Regions from separate parts of the Homo sapiens genome. Here region 2 is linked to region 1. The links are contacts of gene promoters, found by promoter capture Hi-C in human tissues and cell types (Jung and others, 2019). All regions are on one chromosome and are shown on one strand. Each heading gives the region's core, a stretch centred on a gene start or on the middle of the fragment in contact. The rest is flanking DNA. Distances are from core to core; before and after follow the strand shown. Region 1 holds the start of RPS6KL1 (ribosomal protein S6 kinase like 1). Region 2 overlaps TMED10 (transmembrane p24 trafficking protein 10).

Region 1 (4,480 bases), core at 584-3,083:
ACTTTTTGAGGAACTGGCAAATTGTTTTCCAAAGCAGCTGTTCCTTTTACATTCTCATCAGCAATATGCAAATTTCTCCAGATCCTTGTCAACACTTATTATTGTCTTTTTCGTTGTGGTCATCCCAGTGGGTGAGAAGTGGTGTCTCCTTGTGATTTTAATTTGTATTTCTCTAATGACTAATGATGTAGAGCATCTTCTCATGTACTTATGGCATGCATTTGCATATCTTCTTTGGAGAAATGTCTATTCAAATTACTTGCCCATTTTTAAATGGGATGTCTTTTTATTGTTGAATTTAAGAGTCCTTTATATATTCTAGATACTAGACCCTTATCAGATATATGATTTCCAAGTATTTTCTCCCATTCTATAGGATGTGTTTTAAAAGTTTACTTTTGGGCCAGATGTCATGGCTCACGTTTGTAATCTCAACACTTTGGGAGGCTAAGGTGGGTGGATCACCTGAGCTCCAGAGTTTGAGACCAGCCTGGGCAATATGGTGAAACCCCATCTCTACTAAAAAAAAAAAAAAAAAAAAAAAAAAAAAGGAAATTAGCCGTACTGCAAACCTAGGGTGGTAGGTAAAGAAGTGAGGCCTAGAGTGTATTTTGGTTTGTTTTCTTGTTTTGCTTTTAAGAGGGGAGAAACAAGCATTATGTTTGTATCAGGTGGGAATTATCTAGTGGGAGAGACGGGAGAATCGCTGGAGTGGTGTCGCTGAGTAGGTGATGGCACGGGACTGATGCCCACCTGGAAGGGTGGCCTTCGATGGGGCACAGACAGTCACCTGTGGAAAAAGGTTGGAAGCAGAGTGTGGGCACAGCCCCGCCCGCGGGCCAAGAGCAAGCCTGTGGGAGTCTGTGCGCCACTGCTGTCAAGGGAAGGATGAAGCAACAGTGCTGGCTGAGAGTGAGGATAGGGGGACGGGTGGGAGTCAGAGGGAGAAAGTATGAAAGGGTGTCTAAGGTAGAGCAAGTGCAGCCGGGGGACAGTGTGAAGCCAGTCAGCACTGAACCTGCAGGTGAGATCTGTGTCACAGGGTTGCCTGTGATCTGTTGCCCCATCACCCAGGCTGGAGTGCAGTGACACGATCTCGGCTCGCTGCAGCCTCAACCTCCCGAGCTCACTCCATCCTCCCACCTCAGCCTCCTGAGTAACTGGGACCACAGGCACACGCCACCATGCCCAGCTAAATTTTGTAATTTTTATAGAGATTGGGTCTACCTATGTTGCCCAGGCTGGTCTTGAACTCCTAGGTTCAAATGATCCTCCCGCCTCAGCCTTCCATAATGCAGAGATTACAGGCATGAGCCACCGCACCCGGCCTATGTCTTGAATTTTAAGCTCGGTTCTGATATCAAAAGCCTTCTATTGCTGGGTTCTTTACTCTCGGTAGCCCTCACTAGACTGTAAGCCCCATGCGGATGTAAACAGCGCTGTCTAGTTCACGGCTGTATCTCAACATCCAGCTCCTCATGCATGGGAGACTCTCAATACATAGCATTGAATCGTTGAATAAATGAATGAAGCAATGAATGAGAAAAGTCCTAGAAGTGGCACGTCTAGATTTCTGAAGCAGCCCCTTCCGCATCCCTGGATGATTCTAGACCTGCTCTCCCCACCCACCCCACATCCCATCCCACCCTCCCCTCTCTAAACCGCCCCCCGCCCCTCACAGCCCAGCCGTGCAGACCTTGCGGCTTTAAGGCCGGCAGGAGCCGAGCCGGGCGGTGATTGGTGGTTTATTCTAAGGCTCAAGTATGAGCTCATCCGCAGCCAATGGCCGCGCTGCACCGGCTGGCCCCGCACGCTGGATGCCGGAAAGCAGCGGCCCGCGGCGCGCTCTGGCGTGAAGGGCCGGTACGTGAGGGGGAGGCCTGGCCCGCGGACCCGGCTCCCAGCTCGGGCAGGTACGGTGTTTTGTCCGGTCCCTTCTCCACCCTCCCAGGCGAGGGGCCCCCTCGGCCGTCCCTCCACCCTGGGACCGTGCACCTTGCGGCTGGGGCCCCGTGGGTTGCACGCGCCGCTTTCTGTGTCCAGGCGGGGCCGGCGGCTCTGCCCGGCAGGACCCTGCCCGGCGGGGTGGACCCTGAAGCCAGTCCTACCCGGGCACCCCCCAGAGCAAGGCCTCAGAGCCTCAAGTTCCCCTGGGCTTGGCCGAGCAGGGATGGTGCGGCCTCCCTCTGCCTCCTGGCCGCATCCTGGCCGGGATTCAGCTCCCCGCCGGCTGAGGCTGTGGGTCTCCCTCCCCGCCCCACCGCCCATCCTGCTCTCTCCTCTTTCTCTCCAAATGACCTGGGGTTGGAAGTTCCGGGTCCTGCCCATTCCCAGTGGGACCTGGGAGAGCAAAGGCGGGGTAGCTTTGTGGGCCTCTCTCTGAGCCCCTTCCCTTCCCGCAGCCACGGCTGTCATCCCTTTGGCCGCCTGGGTCACACATTGCTCAGGAAGAAGCTGCTGTCAGGTCCTTGGAGGCCACATGACCTTCTCAAAAGTAAAGCCAGGAGGACAGAGCGACCCTCCCTGGGGCTGGGTCACCCTGCCCTCTTCTACCCCCCATCCAACGTGGCACCGAGTCTGCCACTCAGTCATTCCGTCTGCCAACAGTTCTTACAGCCCAGCTCTGTGCTCTGCTCTCTGCTGGCTCCAGGAGGGGTCCTCACTCGCTGACCACACTGACCTCAGGACCAAGGGAACAAAACACAGCAGGGGCAATCCATCCGGTCCACGGAGAAGTGCTAAACCCCAAAGGGTAAATGAGATTCCCACAGGAGGAGCAGGGAGGAGACAACAGGCAGGGTGGAGGGAACAGCATGAGGAACAGCATTTGAGCCCAGCGTGTGTGGCCTCCATGTGCTGAATGCGTACTGGATACCAAGCTTGCTCTACGGAGGCCCTGTGAAGGTGGCTGTGGATCACAGATATCCTCAGCTCTCTCCAGAGCTCAACACAGTACCAGATGCTCCAGAAATGTTTGCTGAACTGAATTTGACTGGAAAGGAAAACAGAGCCCCAGGCCTGCGCGGTGGCTCACGTCTATAATCCCAGCACTGTGGGAGGCCGAGGCAGACGGATCACTTGAGGTCAGGAGTTCAAGACCAGCCTGGCCAACATGGTAAAACCCCGTCTCTACTACAAATACAAAACATAGCCAGGTGTGGTAGGCAAGTGCCTGTAATCCCAGCTACTTGGGATGCTGAGGCAGGAGAATTGCTTGAACCTGGGAAGTGGAGGTTGCAGTGAGCCGAGATCGCACCACTGCAATCCAGCCTGGGTGACATAGCGAGACTCTGACTCAAAAAAAAAAAAAAAAAAGAAAAGAAAACAGAATCCTGAGCTGGTTATGATTCTATCATTACCACCACTTAGGAAGGACCTGGATCCATGAAAAGACCTTACCCACTTTAGCTCTGACCCCTTCAGTCTTTGGAGGTGAATATGAGTCTCCCTGACATTCAGTGGAGGAAACTGGGGTGCGGATAGGGGTGTTGCTACCAGCTAGGTCCTCCCTAATGCATTTGCCCATTCCAGGTCCCAGCTGCAGGGCAGCCATGAGCCTGGTGGCCTGTGAGTGCCTGCCCAGCCCCGGCCTGGAGCCTGAGCCTTGCTCACGAGCACGGTCCCAAGCTCACGTGTACCTGGAGCAGATTCGCAACAGGGTGGCTCTGGGAGTGCCTGACATGACAAAACGTGACTATCTGGTGGATGCGGCCACGCAGATCCGGCTGGCCCTGGAGCGCGATGTTAGTGAGGACTATGAGGCGGCCTTCAACCACTATCAGAATGGCGTGGACGTGCTGCTCCGTGGCATACACGGTGAGGACCGGGGCTGGGCAGGGCTGGGGTGGGTGGGGAAGGGCCAGTGCAGGGCTCTTCCTGTCACCCATCTGTCTTGTCCCCTGTCCATTTGTACTGAGTGAGCACGGCACTATGCTGGCCTGCAGGGCCTCCATAAAAGACAATGATAGCTGGCACTTATTAAGCAGTTTCTACATGCCAGGTACTATTCTAAGGGCTTCATGTAGATTCATTCATTTGAGTGTCACAGTAATAGAAATTACTATATATGTTGTTGTATGTTGTTCCAAGCACACAGGAACCATTTTTTACATTCTCATGTTCCAGATGAGGAAGCTGAGGCATGGGGCAGTTCAGTAGCTTGCTCAAGGCTCCACAGCTATCAAATGGCACAATTGGGGTTTCACTTCACAGGCTGTGTACTTGGCCCACTACACCTGACTGTTCCTGGAGCTGGGCTGGGCTCCTGCCCTCTGGGAGTTTGCATTCTAGTGGGGGGAGACTGATGAGTTGATTTGGACCATTATAGTCTCAGGTAGGAAGAGGATTAGTGGGGAAGTGAAGAGAGGAAAGAGGGAAACTGAGGTCAGACTGGGCCGGCCTAGAGCATTTTCTAGATGTTAGATCTCTAATCTGAGCACTGGAGAATGGTAGGTGCGTTATCCAGCTGAAGAACTGGCTA
Region 2 (4,480 bases), core at 1,065-3,564, 230 kb before region 1:
GGGCTTGGGGGTGCATGCCTGTAGTCCCAGCTACTTGGGAGGCTGAGGCAGGAGAATCACTTGAATCCGGAAGGCGGAGGTTGCAGTGAGCCGGGATTGCGCCACTGCCCTACAACCTGAGTGACACAGCGAGACTCTGTCTCAAAAAAAAAAAAAGGGCCAGGTGAGATGGCTTACACTTGTAATCCCAGCACTTTCAGAGGCCAAGGCAGGTGGATCACGAGGTCAGGAGATCAAGACCATCCTGGCTAACACGGTGAAACCCCGTCTCTACCAAAAATACAAAAAATTAGCCGGGTGTGGTGGCATGTGCCTGTAATCCCAGCCACTTGGGAGGCTGGGGCAGGAGAATCGCTTGAACCCGGGAGGCAGAGGTTGCAGTAAGCCGAGATCGCATCACTGCACTCCAGCCTGGGTGACAGAGCGAGACTCTGTCTCAAAAATAAATAAATAAAAATAAATTTAAAAGTTTGACAAATTAGCAAATGGTGCTGGATGGCAGAAGACAGTTGACTAATACTACTGTTTATTAGGGAATTTAGAAGATGTGCCATAAAACTTTTTTTAGTTAATCTGTCATTTCAAATTTATCTAGTAGTGATAACTTTTCTTTAGTTATTATCAATTTTTTCCAAAATAAAATAACTTTATTATTATTTTTGAATATAAGTGATCCAGTGATACATGCCTTTTTTTTTTTTTTTTTTTTTTTTTTTTTGAGACAGAGTCTCGCTGTGTTGCCCAGGCTGGAGTGCAGTGGCACAGTCTCGGCTCACCGCAACTTCTGCCTCCCGGGTTCAAGCGATTATCCTGCCTCAGCCTCCAAAGTAGCTGGGATTACAGGCGCCCAATACCACTCCTGGCTAATTTTTTTTTTTTTTTGTATTTTTAGTAAAGACGGGGTTTCACCATGTTGGCCAGGCTGGTCTCAAACTCCTGACCTCAGGTGATCCACCTGCCTCGGCCTCCCAAAGTGCTGGGATTACAGGTGCGTGAGCCACTGCACCTGGCAGAGCTACCACGCCCGGCTACATGTCATTTTCAAAAAAGGCCGGGTGTGGTGGCTCACGCCTGTAACCCCAGCACTTTGGGAAGCCGAGGCGGGTTGGATTATGAGGTCAGGAGATCGAGACCATCCTGGCCAACACAGGGAAACCCTGTCTTTACTAAAAATACAAAAAAATTAGCTGGGCATGGTCGTGGGTGCCTGTAGTTCCAGCTACTCGGGAGGCTGAGGCAGGAGAATCACCTGAACCCGGGAGGCGGAGGTTGCAGAGAGCCGAGATCACGCCACTGCACTCCAGCCTGGGGACAGAGTGAGACTCCATTTCAAAAAAAAAAAGGGAAAAAAAAATAGAAAGTCTCACCCCTCAGAAATAACTACTGTTATAAAGTACTTTTAAATATATAAGCTTAAATGTGTGCTACTTAATTTTCCTGCTTAAAATTTCCCCTTAAAAGAATTATGTTTTAACAAATAGCATTAGAACATCCAGTTTAATGTAATTAAGCCACTACTTTTGTGTTCCACATTGCAAAGTAGCTTCCAGTCTTAAGTGATGAAATATGCTTTCTACTAAGACAGCCACGTGCTCTAGAAATGAAGGCTAAGATCCAGTCTGTTAAATTACCATGGAATTCCCTTGCTTTGTATGTGGCTGTTTACTTAGCAGTATATGCCCTTTATTCTGTGCTGATAGGCCATTCTTTGGTAATAGAGCAGCTTAAGTCTGAAGAGCTAAAGCTAAGGATCTAGAAGAAAGGAATAATCATTTATGGAAGCCAAAGATACCTTTTTTTTTTTAGGATAAATTTCTCTCCTTTTTGTTTTTGTTTTTGTTTTTTTGAGACAGAGTCTTGCTCTGTCACCCAGGCTGCAGTGACACGGCAAGCTTCCCAGTACCTGGGACTATAGGTGCGCACCACCATGCCTGGCTAATTTTTGTATTTTTTGTAGAGATGAGGTTTCGCCATGTTGGTCTTGAACACTTTTTTTTTGAGACAGAATCTCACTCTGTCATCTGGGCTGGAGTGCAGTGGCGCAATCTTGGCTCACTGCAACCTCCGCCTCCCAGGTTCAAGCGATTCTCCTGCCTCAGCCTCCTGAGTAGCTGGGACTACAGGCATATGCCACTGCGCCCAGCTGATTTTGGTATTTTTAGTAGAGACGAGGTTTCTCCATGTTGGTTGGCCAGGATGGTCTTGATCTCTTGACCTCGTGATCCATCCGCCTCGGCCTCCCAAAGTGCTGGGATTACAGGCGTGAGCCACCGCGCCCAGCCAGGTCTTGAACTCTTGAGCTCAAGTGATCCTCCTGCCTTGGCGTTCCAAAGTTTGGGATTACAGGCGTGAGCCACCATGCCTGGCCAGAAACTTCTTTTTTGTTTCCTGTGTTTTGTTCCCACTCTACCTGGCCGTTGACATAATTAACATGAAATTTGCAGGAATAGATCTCCTGGATTGTCTTCTCTATGTATGCTTTTCTTCCTGCTGTCCTTGTATTGTGTGTCCTAATTTTATTCTCCACCCACACCCCTTCCCCATCAAATTTGTTTTATAGAATAAATGTGTTTTTATATATCTTTGTCCCTCTTGTATAATCTTTTGATAATTGTCTACTTTCATTTTTGTGACATGTTCCTCTATGCGGAATGATACTAGTGAGTTTTTGCCAATAAATCCAATGTATGTAACTTGGAGCATTAGCTAGATTAACTTTTTGGTATGGTAAGACATCCTATAGCAGCAACAGATTTTAGCCCACAGTGTGATTAGGCTATTTGAATGGATGAAATTTGCTGTATTTGGATTTAATCTTCTAATCCAGTTTTTGTCTTTGGGGATGGTTGGAACATAGTCATCATAATGAGAACTATCAATTGTCTTTCATAGATAGTGTCTCTATCTTCCCAGTTTCTGTAAGTTCTCTTCCTGAGTGTTATTTGCTGCCTATTCTTACTACTTTTCTTATTTTAGATCACAGATTCTGCTGGCCATATTCTCTACTCCAAAGAGGATGCAACCAAGGGGAAATTTGCCTTTACCACTGAAGATTATGACATGTTTGAAGTGTGTTTTGAGAGCAAGGGTGAGTAATCAAGAGTGTTTCTCTGGATTAAGAATCTTCTCCAACTCTAATGCTCCTTAATACAGTCAGCACTTAATATCTAGTTTCATTTGTATTCTTTATTTATTCTGATTTGGAGACCTGTTACCTTGTAGTCTTTGGAGCACCTTTTAAAAGGTCGACTACATGGAATAAAAGATTGAATAGGTGGAACAGAGAGAATTTTTAGGGCAGTAAAAATATTCTGTATGATACTGTAATAGTGGATACATGTCATTATATGGTTGTCCGAACATTACATTTGGAATGTACACCAAGAGTGAATCCTAATGTAAACTGTGGACTTTGGTAGATAGTGATGTGTCCATGTAGGTTCATCATTTGTAATGAATGTACCACTCTGGTGGGAAATGGTGATAATGGGGGAGGCTATGCATATGTAAGAGGAAGGGGGATATGGGAAATCTTTGTGCCTTCCTCTCAGTTTTGTTGTGAACCTAAAACTGCTCTAACAAAGTGAAGTCTTAAAAAAAAGGCTGGGCATGGTGGCTCATGCCTGTAATCCCAGCACTTTGGGAGGCCAAGGCAGGCAGATCACTGAAGGTTAGGAGTTTGAGACCAGCCTGGCCAACATGGTGAAACCCTGTCTCTACTAAAAATACAAAATTAGCTGGGCATGGTGGCTCGTGCCTGTAACCCTAGCTGCTCAGGAGGCTGAGGCAGGAGAATCACTTAAACCCAGGAGGTGGAGGTTGCAGTGAGCAAGATTGTGTCACTGCACTCCAGCCTGGGTGACAGAGTGAGACTCCATCTCAAAAAAATAAACAACAACAACAACAAAAAAAACTGGCCGGGCGCAGTGACTCACGCTTGTAATCCCAGCAGTTGGGAGGCCGAGGCGGGCGGATCACCTGAGGCCAGGAGTTTGAGACCAGCCTGGCCAACATGGCGAAACCCCATCTCTACTAAAAATACAAAAATTAGCCAGATGTGGTGGTGGCACATGCCTGTAATCCCAGCTACTCGGGAGGCTGAGGCAGGAGAATTGTTTGAACCCAGGAGGCAGAGATTGCAGTGAGCCAAGATCGTACCACTGCACTGCAGCCTGGGTGACAGAGCGAGACTCTGTCTCAAAACAAACAAAAAGGATTGTCTGTTTGCCAGGCAAATGCAGAGAGAAAAATTATGAAGGGTCCTTTTACAAAGGAGACTCTTTAGGGCTATGATGTCAGCTAAGAGGATAGGCTGACAGTTCTATGCAAGAGACTGTATAGTCTGGACTCGACCATTCTGAGAAATGGTGGTTAGGTGATTTCGTTGTGCAAATATTAAGTGTACTTACACAAACCTAGATGTTATAGCCTACTACCCACCTCGGCTATATGGTATAGCCTACTACTGCTCCTAGGCTAC

The links. Contacts are between HindIII fragments. The study calls those that stand out against the background at their distance.
Region 2: a fragment that was not itself captured here is called in contact with the fragment with the promoter of RPS6KL1 in region 1 in 1 of the 25 tissues and cell types used here (bladder).

The regions. Positions count from the first base shown.
Region 1 is chr14:74,920,613-74,925,092 of GRCh38, reverse strand. It overlaps RPS6KL1 (ribosomal protein S6 kinase like 1), which reads left to right and starts at 1,833. Exons shown (of 12, transcript NM_031464.5): 1 at 1,833-1,913; 2 at 2,608-3,115; 3 at 3,532-3,816. The coding sequence starts at 3,552. RefSeq lists silencers at 1,608-1,667, 1,758-2,167 and enhancers at 1,538-2,308, 2,309-3,080. The HindIII fragment of the contact is 16,501 bases long and covers 1-4,480 here.
Region 2 is chr14:75,150,640-75,155,119 of GRCh38, reverse strand. It overlaps TMED10 (transmembrane p24 trafficking protein 10), which reads left to right. Exons shown (of 5, transcript NM_006827.6): 2 at 2,977-3,088. Among named protein-coding and RNA genes, the nearest start is that of TMED10, 24 kb to the left of the region's middle. RefSeq lists an enhancer at 2,092-2,756. The HindIII fragment of the contact is 4,149 bases long and covers 240-4,388 here.